Linked DNA regions of Homo sapiens: regions 1, 2 and 3 are each linked to region 4. The links are contacts of gene promoters, found by promoter capture Hi-C in human tissues and cell types (Jung and others, 2019). All regions are on one chromosome and are shown on one strand. The core of a region is centred on a gene start or on the middle of the fragment in contact, and the rest is flanking DNA. Distances in the headings are between cores, read along the strand shown. Region 1 has its middle 1.1 Mb from the start of CT66. Region 2 overlaps AUTS2 (activator of transcription and developmental regulator AUTS2). Region 3 overlaps AUTS2 (activator of transcription and developmental regulator AUTS2). Region 4 holds the start of AUTS2 (activator of transcription and developmental regulator AUTS2).

Region 1 (2,700 bases), core at 5-2,504, 1.1 Mb after region 4:
TTGTTTATTCTTTAGTCATGCTCTGTTGCCCAGGCTGGAGTGCAGTGGCATGAGCACGGCTCACTGCAGCTTCGAACTCCCGGGCCCAAGCTATCCTCCTCCCCGTCAGCCTCCCAAGTATCTGGGATTACAGGTGCTTGCACCCATACCCGGTTAATTCTTTTATTTTCTGTAGAGATGAGGTCTCATTATATTCCCCAGGCTAGTCTCAAACGGCCTCCTAAAGCACTGAAATTAGAGGCGTGAGCCACTGTGCCTGGACAAGCTGTACATATTTTAATTAACTGGGTACTTAGTTAAGATTTATGGACTGTCTTCACAAATAACTTTAGCAAGAGAATTCCAAGCCTAACTGCAGTTCATGCATATCCTCATAGAATTTTCTTCCATACCTGATATCCAGTAAGATGTTCTAAATCCTAAAGAAAAGCTGAGCTGATCAAGCTATATTTAAAGAACTTGCCTACTCTTTTTCATGATGGGTAAATATGCAGTGTTCGTGATACTTTTGAAACACAGAAAGTAACGGTAGCTTCTTCCTCTTGCCATCTGTAACTCCTAAGAATCTGGAGGTTCTAGAGTTGTTACTGTTAATTTAGTTCAGGACACTTGTTTGTACTGATCACGAAAAGCTAGGCTCAGAAATGGCAAGTAATTTGCTGATGTCACACAGCTAGCTCATTACCATTTCCAAGCCGTTCATTAAAGCTCTGGTTGCTATGATATACATTGTTATAATCCAAGTCAGAGGTATGTCTATTTATATCTACTTTAGAATTTTTCTCAGCCAGAGGCTGAGCCTATGGAGAGGCTGTTGAGTACCAGCTGTCTACGGCTTATATTGTTAATTCATTAAACTTCATGCTTTATCCTCTCTGGAAATCACTGGCAAACAATAACACTGGAGTACTTGCTTGCTGCAATTGCTGACAATATCAATTATTTAGTTTTCTGCCAATTCCTATTAGACTTTTTCTAACTGGAGAATTTACACTGTGTTATTGAATTAAAAACAGTGGAAAGCTTTGGGGAATTTAAACTAATTAGCCAGCATTTGTAAACCCCTTTGTGTGAGATAATTTGTTTACATGACTAATTCAACCTTTTAATTATGGGGGCCCGCATGGACCATGAAAGGTGTCACTACAGCCATCCTTTGCTGAGCACTGGGAAGGCAACATGGCAAAACTCATTTTTCTTTGTGATGAGGTATGATGACCAGCTCACTGATACCTAACCTTGCATTTTAGCATGTTTATAATTACACCTACGAGAAGCTTTAGTCTTCCCACGCTTTCAGGTGTGCCTTTTTCTGAGCAATTTCTCATTCATGTTTGCAGGGCAGCTCCAAATCACTGCCTCATCCATTCTCCATTTTTTTCATAGCTCCTGTCCCCTCCCCACCATCTATTCCTTTTAGATCTCTTTGTCCTTCAGAATTTACTGTTGAATTGTCATTTAGAATTCACTGTTGCATTCTTCATTGCTAACATGTTTTAATGTCCCCTTTATCCAGGATTTCATGTGAACAGTCATGGTTGATTATCCAGTCTGGGTGTAGATATCATGTTAACTGCATGGCCTGGATTCAAATAAATTTAGCTACAGCTAAATTTACCTTGGCAAAAGAGAACAGAGACCATAGACATCCATTTTTGTCTACTGTGAATGTGATGGTGTGGTTCTCTCTAATATGAAGTACTTCTATTTAATAGAGAGAGAGACAAGAACTGGATAAATATCTAAATTGTGTTTCTTTGTGGTCTATTGATATTGGGTTACCAAAATGCAACTTTTTGTTGAGAATGTATTTCCCAGGAGTGATTCTGAGAAATAATATTAATTCTTATGGTAGCTGTGAATATTTTAATTAAGTAAGTACTTAAGATTCAAGGACTATCTCCACAAATAACTTTAGCAAGAGAATTCCAAGCATAACTGCAGTTTATGCATATCCTCATGAATTTCCCTTCTTACCTGATGTCTACTAAGATGTTCTAAAGCCTAAAAAAAAGGTGGGTTATAAAAAAGTGGGCAAAGGACATGAACAGACACTTTTCAAAAGAAGTCTTACATGCATCCAGCAATCATATGGAAAAAAAAGCTCAGCATCACTGATCATTAAAGAAATGCAAATCAAAACCACAGTGAGATTCCATCTCACACCAGTCAGAATGGCTATTAATAAAAAGTCAAAAAATAACAAATGCTGGTGAGGTTGTGCAGAAAAAGGGATGCTTACACAGTTGGTGGGAGCATAAGTTATTTCAGCCATTGTGGAAGACAGTGTGATCTTTCCTCAAAGACCTAAAGAAAGAAATACCATTCAACCCAGAAATCCCATTACTGAGTATATACCCGAAGGAATATAAATCATTCTATTATAAAGACACATGCACATATATGTTCATTGCAGCACTGTTCACAATAGCAAAGACATGGGATCAACCTAAGTGCCCATCAATGATAGACTGGATGAAGAAAATGAGGTACATGTACACCATGGAATACTATGCAGCCATAAAAAAGAACAGGATTATGTCCTTTACAAGAACACAGATTGAACTGGAGGCCATTATGTTTAGCAAACTAATGCAGGAAGAGAAAACCAAATACTGCCCGTTCTGATGAGAACACATGGATAAATAGAGGGGAACAAGTCACACTGGGGACTTTTGGAGGGTGGAGGGTGGAGGGTAG
Region 2 (2,700 bases), core at 124-2,623, 1.2 Mb before region 4:
CACTCACATGTGCATCCCATTCTTCCCTACACCACGAAGGTCGGACTGACCTTGACTTTCTGTTGGTGGTGGTAAATCTGCCAGGCGATGTGAACATGCATAGCACACCACTTCCCTGGTTTCTGGAACAAGAAAGAGCAACGTGGTTAGGAGGAAGACATTTCAGAGAAAACCACCTTCAATTTCCCCAAAGCTTTCAGCAGATTTTGGCTGCAGAGGCTTTTTTCGTGAAACAAGAGTGCTTTGTACTCTCCAAGTGCCTTCCATCAGTAGCTCTCCAGCGCCCAGTCATAAGGGAGTCACAGCCAGCTCCCCCTCTCTCCCCACGTGGGTTTGCTACTCAGAAAACCACATTGACAAGGGCCTCCCCGGTTACCAAGGACAAGACGGCAAAAGCCTGAATCCCACTCTGTGCCTCTTCTCTTTCTTTTCTGCTGCCAGCTGGCAGACCTGGTAGAGTGGGAAGCCCTACTTAACAAATGTTGCCATGCTATAATGCAAATCAGCTGTTCAGAAGAGCTCATTAGTGAATGTCTGTGAGTCAAATCAAAATAAGAGAGGGTACAGAACCTGTCCTAACCTCCCCCAAGACCGTGGTGGTTTTTATTTTAACCCCCAAAGTGGTACAAAGAAATTCACATTTTGATTGAAGCCCAGTTACCGTAAATGCTAAGAGTCAACTACCCATTCGTGTTGGTGGGCGCTGTTCCTAAGTTTAAAGAAAGAAACAAAGAGAAGAATATTCCTTCCTTCCTGTTCTCTATCTAGGCCTCTGCAGATCTCAAGTCCATCCTCCACCCTCTGGGGTTGAATTTGAATCCACATCTCCCCAATTATTTCATGTCTTGCTTTATAAGGAGTGGAGTGCTGTGAGTGTATTCTCTTCTACCAGTCAGCGGGCAGGGACCACCTTTTCACTTCATTTCTGCTAAGTAATCTACCCATAAGCTCGGCGTGCGCGCTCAGTGACTACTGGACAGATGAGAAGAAAACACAGCCTCATTCTACATCGGCGAAGAACAGAAGCTTCTGGTTTCTACAGTATGGAGTTAGTTCCGAAAATATATACTTAAATGCAAGTCTGGGTCAGTTCTCTTCTCTTGCAATGAAATTATGGGTAGTTTGAAATCACAAATAATATACTGCCTCACCTAAGTGATGACACAATTCTCCTTTTTCCCCTGGAGAAATCAAATTATCTGATTATGTGCCCTAGAAATGAGTTATGCATAGCAAGAAATCTGCTGTCCATCCATCTTCTGTCCAACAATTCATCATGTCTGTCTTACCCCCAACCACCAGGATTCATTTAGAGGTCATCACACTGGCCAGTCTCCAGACCTCGAGAACAATTTGCTTTAAGCAAGATGTTAACAAACCAGATGCTTATAGTACCTCCTTCCTGCACCTTAAAAGGAGGTCAAACGGCTATGGCAAGTCAATGTCACTTACTACAGAAAGAGGGAGCCACCAGCCAAAATAAATGGACCCAGCTACATATTTTCTAAGTGCAAGAGAGACTAACTTCAGCCTATAGCTTCAGTCTTTCCCCTTAAGTTCCAACTAGTCAAACCTTTTACCAGAACTGCTAACAAGAGATCGGACTCGTTGACTTTTCTCTGTTGTAGAGATAAAAAAAAAAAGCCAATGGCCTCCAACGGTCAAAGCAAAACAGTTTAGGCCATTTTCAATCACACTATCTGAAAAACCCAATCACCGTCATTCCAATGTCTTATTCCAACATTTCTATGGCTTATTTCCTTGTAATAGACTTGTATTTTTAACCCACAGGGAGTCAAATAGAGGTTGCAAAACAGTTCTATAAGAAGCTTTCTTACCCTTAACATAGGTCTGAAAGGATCTGTCAACTGTGAAGAGAAAATGACAACTTGGTTACATGCCTGTCACTCAAACAATTGCTCTAATTAACAAATTTGTAGTGCTTCATTAGGAGGGGAAATTAAAATGTTAGAATTTTACTTTTAAATGAAGCCCTTTTAGAGAATAATTAACCCATTTTCACACTATCAAAAGTGCCAAGTGTCCCCTCCCCCACTTCACAAGCCTTGGTACATCTACGCTGACAAGCCCCTGTACAAGTTTAATCAATAGCAATGTGCCCTCTGGCAACATGATTTGCTCACATCACACACCAGGAGTTTCACTGTTTTGAGCTCCAAACCACACCGGGTAGGTCTGAGGGAGAATGGCCTTCAGACCCCTGGCTTTTAAAGCTGTCTACTAACTGGTATCTGGGGAGAGGTGTCCTTTCCATCCATCCAGGAGAATTAGGCTCTCTTTACCAATACCCTTACATTGATGACTTTACATTATTTATAGCTATTAGACATTTTCCAGAAGTTCACTATACATCATGACATACTTACATAGTTGAGTCATTTTAAACTTCTATCTAACTCTGGTTATCAATTTCTGACTGCCCTTATGTAGGTAAAAAGACAATATTGTTAAAGATTTTTTCATATTTCGTATAAAGATGACTACAAATAACAATGAGGCAAGATTGTATCTATCGTATAACTTCAGATTCCTTTTTTGGAAGCAGGCAGTGGTAATAAATTATGAATAAACAACATAACCAAAGCATAATGGATATTTTATTTAGCTCTAGAGTACAAAAGGATCCCTAGCACATTAAAAATAGAGGGCCAAAGAGCCGTGCAGTACAATAACTTCCTG
Region 3 (2,700 bases), core at 18-2,517, 1.1 Mb before region 4:
ACCCTTTCGAGGAAGCAGTGACTATTATCTATTCAGCTGCCCTGGAGCTGTTCCACCCAAAGAGAGTAACTCTGGCCTTTAACGTTTATGAGCTTAGCAGGTCTCTGGCCGAGGACCTCCTAATTAACAAACACAGTGGCCCTTTCTGTCTCTTTCTGCAGAAGTGGCAGACTGTCTCTCCCTTTGTTACTGGGCTTCCGTGACAAAATACTATTATTATTCTCTTGTTTCTCAAGTAATATTGCCTTCTTTGGATTCTCTTATCCTTTAATATTGAGATTCTTCAGGTATCCCTTCAATGTCTAGAAAGGAGGAAGTGGGGGACTCTCTCTCACCAGTTCCCCAGCTTCCGCTGTAATTTCCAAGTAGGGGGCTCCCAAGACTCCAGCTCCTCCTGCCTTACACTTCTGTATCTCCAACTCATTTGGTGGAGTGTGGCACTGATTGTCCATTGGCACTTTAAAAATCAACAATCTACAGATGACCTCATTGGGATTTCCTCCTGATTGTCAGTGGTCTTACCTAGGCCATCACCCTCCCTAACTCCAAACCCAGTTCACCGAATCCTCAGGCTGCTCTGTCTTCCCTGTGCCTCTTGCTCATTTCCTCCCTTCCACTCTCACTGCCACGGCTTTCGTTCTGGTCCTCAGTCTGCTGGGATATTTTTTGGTATCCTGATTGTCTTCTTCCAATCTAGTGTCTTCCACTCTCACTTTTCACCTAAGCAAAGGTTGCAAACAGGCCAGGCCCAAGGACAGAGCTCTGCGCCAAACCATCTGACACTTCCTTCCAGGTTGACAACGCAAAGAGACAGGTTAGCCAGGGACCAGCTTTCAGATTTCTTCCCTGCCTCACTGACACTGTACGGTCTTGGACACTTTATTAACCTCTTTGAACACAGCAACCTCTTCATTCATAGGGGGGGTTATTACTTGCCATGCCCAGGCTGATAGGAGGAAACTGTGGTGCCTGGTCTCTTGCAAAGCAGAGCCTTGAAATGTGTTGTCTTTTCTGAAATGCAGGGGAATAGGGAAAGAGGCTAGTTTTATTTGCCTTGCTTGGCCTGTAGTGCCTAGCCTAGCATACTACACATAGTAGGAACTCAAAACATTTTACTGCCTTTGAAATAAGGAATTCTATTTTAGCAAGTCCCAAGGTGAGAAAGATATTCTAGGGGCTAGGGCTATCCTTTTAAGGGATAATGTTCCTTTCTTCAAGCGGTTACCCAGGATTGACAAGCTTTCATTTCAAGCATCAAATCTAAGTCATTTTATGAAGGCTATGAGTGGCTGCCCACTGAATACCCAGCTGGGGAGGCAGCGGGTGTAATAAGGCCAGAAGCCATTTCTGTGTGTGCCAGATCTGGGTTTTTGTTGTTTGTTTTTGTTTGTTTGTTTTTTGAGACGGAGTCTCGCTCTGTCACCCAGGCTGGAGTGCAGTGGTGCAATCCTGGCTCACTGCTACCTCCGTGTCCCCATCCCCCCACCAGGTTCAAGCAATTATCCTGCCTCAGCCTCCCGAGTAGCTGGGATCACAGGCGTGCGCCACCACACCTAGCTAATTTTTGTATTTTTATTAGAGATGGGATTTCACCATGTTGGCCAGGCTGGTCTTGAACTCCTGACCTCAAGTGATCCGCCCGCCTCGGCCTCCCAAAATGCTGGGACTACATGCGTGAGCCACCGCACCCCGCCTGTTTTGTTACTCCCTACCAAGGCCCCTTCAGGGTGGCTACTGTCAACCCTGCAGTCAGTGCCTGGGCATAAATAGGTCAAATTCCAAAAAACAGGATGCGGGGGCACTGGGTAAAGAGGGGCAGAAGTTTAAGGGGATGAGGGTTGTTTATTCTTTTATCCTAAGGGCAACTGTGTAGCTGCCCTTGAGACTCTGAAAAGCTGTAAAGGAAGGTCCCCTTATTTATGGAGGTGTCAGCCAAGGCTGTGCAGGATAAACTATGTCTGCCCTGGGCTATGACTGGACACGAGGGAGCGACTAAATGTCTTTTCTAGGCCACTTCTAGCTCTCAGTTTATGAAACCTTGCCCACCTGTGGGCTGTGTCACCCGGAACCAAGTACTCTGCTCAACTCGACGGCAAGAACTTAGCCCCAATTTCCTTTCCTCACTCTGTAATAATGCTGACAAATCTTATTCTCAGCTAGATGAAAATTTTCAGCCTCCTTATTCAACACTTTCTGTTTTCTGACACATGCATATGAGGATCGGGGCTAATATGTGGATGGAATCAATTTATAATTTGACTAAGACGCTGCAGAAAGAAAGGAAGTAATAACAATAATCATTTCATTTGTAAGCCTTCCTTCCCCACCTAGGCTCTTGGTGTGCAGAAAAGGCAATTAAAACAGGGTTCAATTAAAAATACCATAAAACAGAAATCAAATAAAATATTAAAAAGCCAAAGTGCCATTGTTAAATAAGTGTTTGTGAGAGGAGGTCCTCAGACAGTAACAGTCTACAGAGACCAGGCAGCGTGTAGCGTAGCAGGGACGGGGTGTGCCTGAGGTGCGCCTACAGTGAACGTTACTTTGTGGTTTTAGCGCCAAACCTCTGTTTTGTTGAAGAGTAAAAAATAAGGCCCTCCTTGGCCACTCTACAAGTATGTGAATCATATTCATTTTACCCTTTGAATTCTTCCATGCCCTGTTTAACCCTGGCTCCTTCGCTTTAGAAAGGCACATTCC
Region 4 (2,700 bases), core at 113-2,612:
CTTCCCATTGTCTTCCTTGTCGGAGCCCGACGACGAGGCGAGTGAGAGCGCCCGGGTCCGGCCAGCCCCGCCGCCGCCGGCCGCGCCGGCCCCCAGCCCGCCCCGGGAGCGCCTCTCCCGGTCTCGCTGCGACCGCGACCGCCGCTTTTTGCGGAGTCCATGGCCCCGCGTCGGGCCATCCATGGTTCTGCTGCGCCGGGGTCTCCCCGCTTGCCCGCCACAGGCTACGGCCGCAGCCACACAAAAAAAAATTGACACCGAGCCCTCCCTCCCCCTTCACGGCTTCCCTCCGCCCCGAGGAGGGCGCGGGGGAGACGGCGGCCGAAAGAAGGGAGAGAGGGGAAGAAAGAGAGGAGAAAGAAAAGGGGGAAGGGGCGGAGAGAGGGGAGGAGGGACGGGGAGCGAGGGCGAGAGGCGAGGAGCCCAAGTGTGGGGCTCCCCACAGCACCGAGGGTCGGAGATGCCTGGGAGCAGCGCCGAGCAAAGTAATGGCTGAACACACAGGTCTCCTTTAGAGGAAAAAAAAATAACTCACCAAGCAAGCAATAAATCAGAATAGCGGAATGCTTTGATCAAGAGACTGGGAGGCTCCGGGGAGCCCTCCCCGCGGCCATTCTCCGCCGCGCCCCCCGCCCCCCGAAAACGCCCGCGCCCCCCTCAACTCGATCCAAAATCGGGTCCGAAAAAGGTCGCGGGAAAAGTGGGGGCAATGAACTTCACCCGCCCCTCGCGCAGGAAAACACCCCCGCCGCCTCTCACACACGCCTCGGAGAAAACTCACTCCCAGGCTCCCAAATTTTTAAGAAATGCAGCCAGGGGAGGCCGGGGCTCCGGAGCGACCCAAGAGGGGCGAGACCCCCCAGAGAGGGGAGCATAATAATGCAATCATTAGCGGAAGAGAGGGCGAAACTGCGAGCGGCGGAGGAGAAGGGAGGCGGAGGAAGGGAAGGAGGATGCTGCTGGAGCAGTTGTGGGGTTTGCTTTTCGGTCTTCGAGGGGGGAGGAGAGGGAGATGAAAGAAGAGAAGAAGCAAACCCTGTCGCTGCCACCCGCCCCCCTCCTCACAAAAATATTTTTTCCAGTCCCAGAGAAGAGGTCACCCTTCCTCAAAAAAGGGAGGGGGTGAGTCAGTCAGTCGATGAGGAAAGCAGAAAGAAATCTCCAGCGGGAGAGACACCGGTGTGCCGCCGCCGCCGCCGCCGCTTCTCTCGCCGCCCCGCCTGAGGGAGAAGCGCAGCCGGGAACGCTGCTCTCGCCGCCGCCGCTAACGCTGCTGCTGCTGCCGCCGCCGCCGCCGAGAAAGCCCCGAGCCGGAGGGTGCACGGCGTGTCCCCGGGCGGCTGCAGCGGGAGCCCGGGCACTGCCCCATCCTCCGCCCGCCCGCCTGCCTCGCGCAGCTCCCGCTCCTCCCCCTCCGCGGCCAGCCCACCGCCGCCGCCGCCGCCGCCGCCCGCCTCAGCCCAACCCCGCGCCCGCCCGCTCGCTCGCTCGCTCGCTCGCTCGTTCGTGCTTTCGCTCGCTCGCTCGAGTGCGCGCGCTCCCGCGCACCCGCCCTCCCCGCGCCTCTCTCGGCGCGCGCTCCCGCCCCCGCGGCCCCGGCCGGCGGGATCACGTGGACGGCTGGGCTCCCTCCTCCCCCGCCCCCTCCCCAGTTGTAGAGTGTGTAGAAAGCAAAAGGCTGGGGGCTGGCCGCGCTCGCGAGCCCAGGGCATGCGCGCTGGGGCGGCCGGGCCTGCGCACTGGGGGCGGTGGGGAGCTGTGAGGGGGGCGGGGGCGGGGGCGTGGAGGGGGCGCCCGCGTGGGGTCGGCCGCGGCCGGGCAGAGTTGGCGCGCCAGGGCGTGGAAGCCGCCGGAGGATCCCGCCTGTCGCAGCGGGGACGCGTGTGGGCCCCTGCTCCCAGGCCACTTCGCGCGCGCGCCCCCCACATCCTCCTCGGGACACTTGTCCCTGGATCCTCTACCCCTGGCCGGCCCGAGGCCGCCTTCTCGGGAAGCCCCACCAGCCCCCAAGGGTGTTTTCCCTTGGCTACCTGCGCTGCGAGGAGAGAAGGGAATTCAGAGAAGGGGTACAAGGGGGGCGTCCCTGGGAGGGGGCGCGACTGGAGGAGACAGAACGGGGAGCGGGTGCCAAAGCGCGGGCCTTTGCTCCGCCTGGGCGCAGTGGGAGCACCAACTGGCAGAGTTGGAAACTTTTCCTCCACGTGGCACCACAGTGCGTGGACGAGCGACCCCGCGCCCGGATGACCCCTGGGATTCCCGCCTCGTCTTCCAGCGGGGGACCTAGGGACGCACGGGCGGCTTCAGATCCGGGAGCGCGAGGCCTAACAGCCGGGGGCCGAACTTGAACCTCGGAGGCGGCCGCGGGCGAGGGGCGGGGCCGAAGGGGCCGGGACCGCCGCCCCAGCTCGAGGACCCGTTAGACCGGCAAACCGCAGTCCCTGCCCCGCGGGCTTCCTTTACTTTTTGGGAGTGGGGGGCGGTTTCCCTGCTTTTTCCACCACAGCCCCTCCTCCCGCCGCAATGTGGCTGATGCTCATAAAAAGTTGTATTAAAGAGCTGACTGCAGCCGAGAATCGATCAACAAAAGCGACCAGCCTCTCTGGGTAAAATAGCTGTGCGTTTTTCAGGGCACTGGAATTGATCTATACGGATCAGAAAGACCGACAGCCCGCTCTCAGCAGCCTCTTGGATACGCTTCAC

The links. Contacts are between HindIII fragments. The study calls those that stand out against the background at their distance.
Region 1: a fragment that was not itself captured here is called in contact with the fragment with the promoter of AUTS2 in region 4 in 1 of the 25 tissues and cell types used here (dorsolateral prefrontal cortex).
Region 2: a contact is called between a fragment that was not itself captured here and the fragment with the promoter of AUTS2 in region 4, in 1 of the 25 tissues and cell types used here (lymphoblastoid cells).
Region 3: a contact is called between a fragment that was not itself captured here and the fragment with the promoter of AUTS2 in region 4, in 1 of the 25 tissues and cell types used here (lymphoblastoid cells).

Annotation. Positions count from the first base shown.
Region 1 is chr7:68,541,089-68,543,788 of GRCh38, reverse strand. No RefSeq gene overlaps it. Among named protein-coding and RNA genes, the nearest start is that of CT66, 1.1 Mb to the left of the region's middle. The HindIII fragment of the contact is 5,228 bases long and covers 1-2,700 here.
Region 2 is chr7:70,774,525-70,777,224 of GRCh38, reverse strand. AUTS2 (activator of transcription and developmental regulator AUTS2) reads right to left here. Exons shown (of 19, transcript NM_015570.4): 13 at 1,839-1,868; 14 at 51-122. Among named protein-coding and RNA genes, the nearest start is that of GALNT17, 360 kb to the left of the region's middle. The HindIII fragment of the contact is 3,112 bases long and covers 1-2,700 here.
Region 3 is chr7:70,669,884-70,672,583 of GRCh38, reverse strand. The region is part of intron 5 of AUTS2 (activator of transcription and developmental regulator AUTS2); the gene reads right to left. Among named protein-coding and RNA genes, the nearest start is that of GALNT17, 460 kb to the left of the region's middle. The HindIII fragment of the contact is 3,753 bases long and covers 1-2,700 here.
Region 4 is chr7:69,597,137-69,599,836 of GRCh38, reverse strand. AUTS2 (activator of transcription and developmental regulator AUTS2) reads right to left here and starts at 1,362. Exons shown (of 19, transcript NM_015570.4): 1 at 1-1,362. The coding sequence starts at 183. It overlaps CT66 (cancer/testis associated transcript 66), which reads left to right and starts at 2,213. Exons shown (of 3, transcript NR_148927.1): 1 at 2,213-2,700. RefSeq lists silencers at 49-118, 1,283-1,362, 1,383-1,802 and enhancers at 883-932, 2,113-2,192. The HindIII fragment of the contact is 7,960 bases long and covers 1-2,700 here.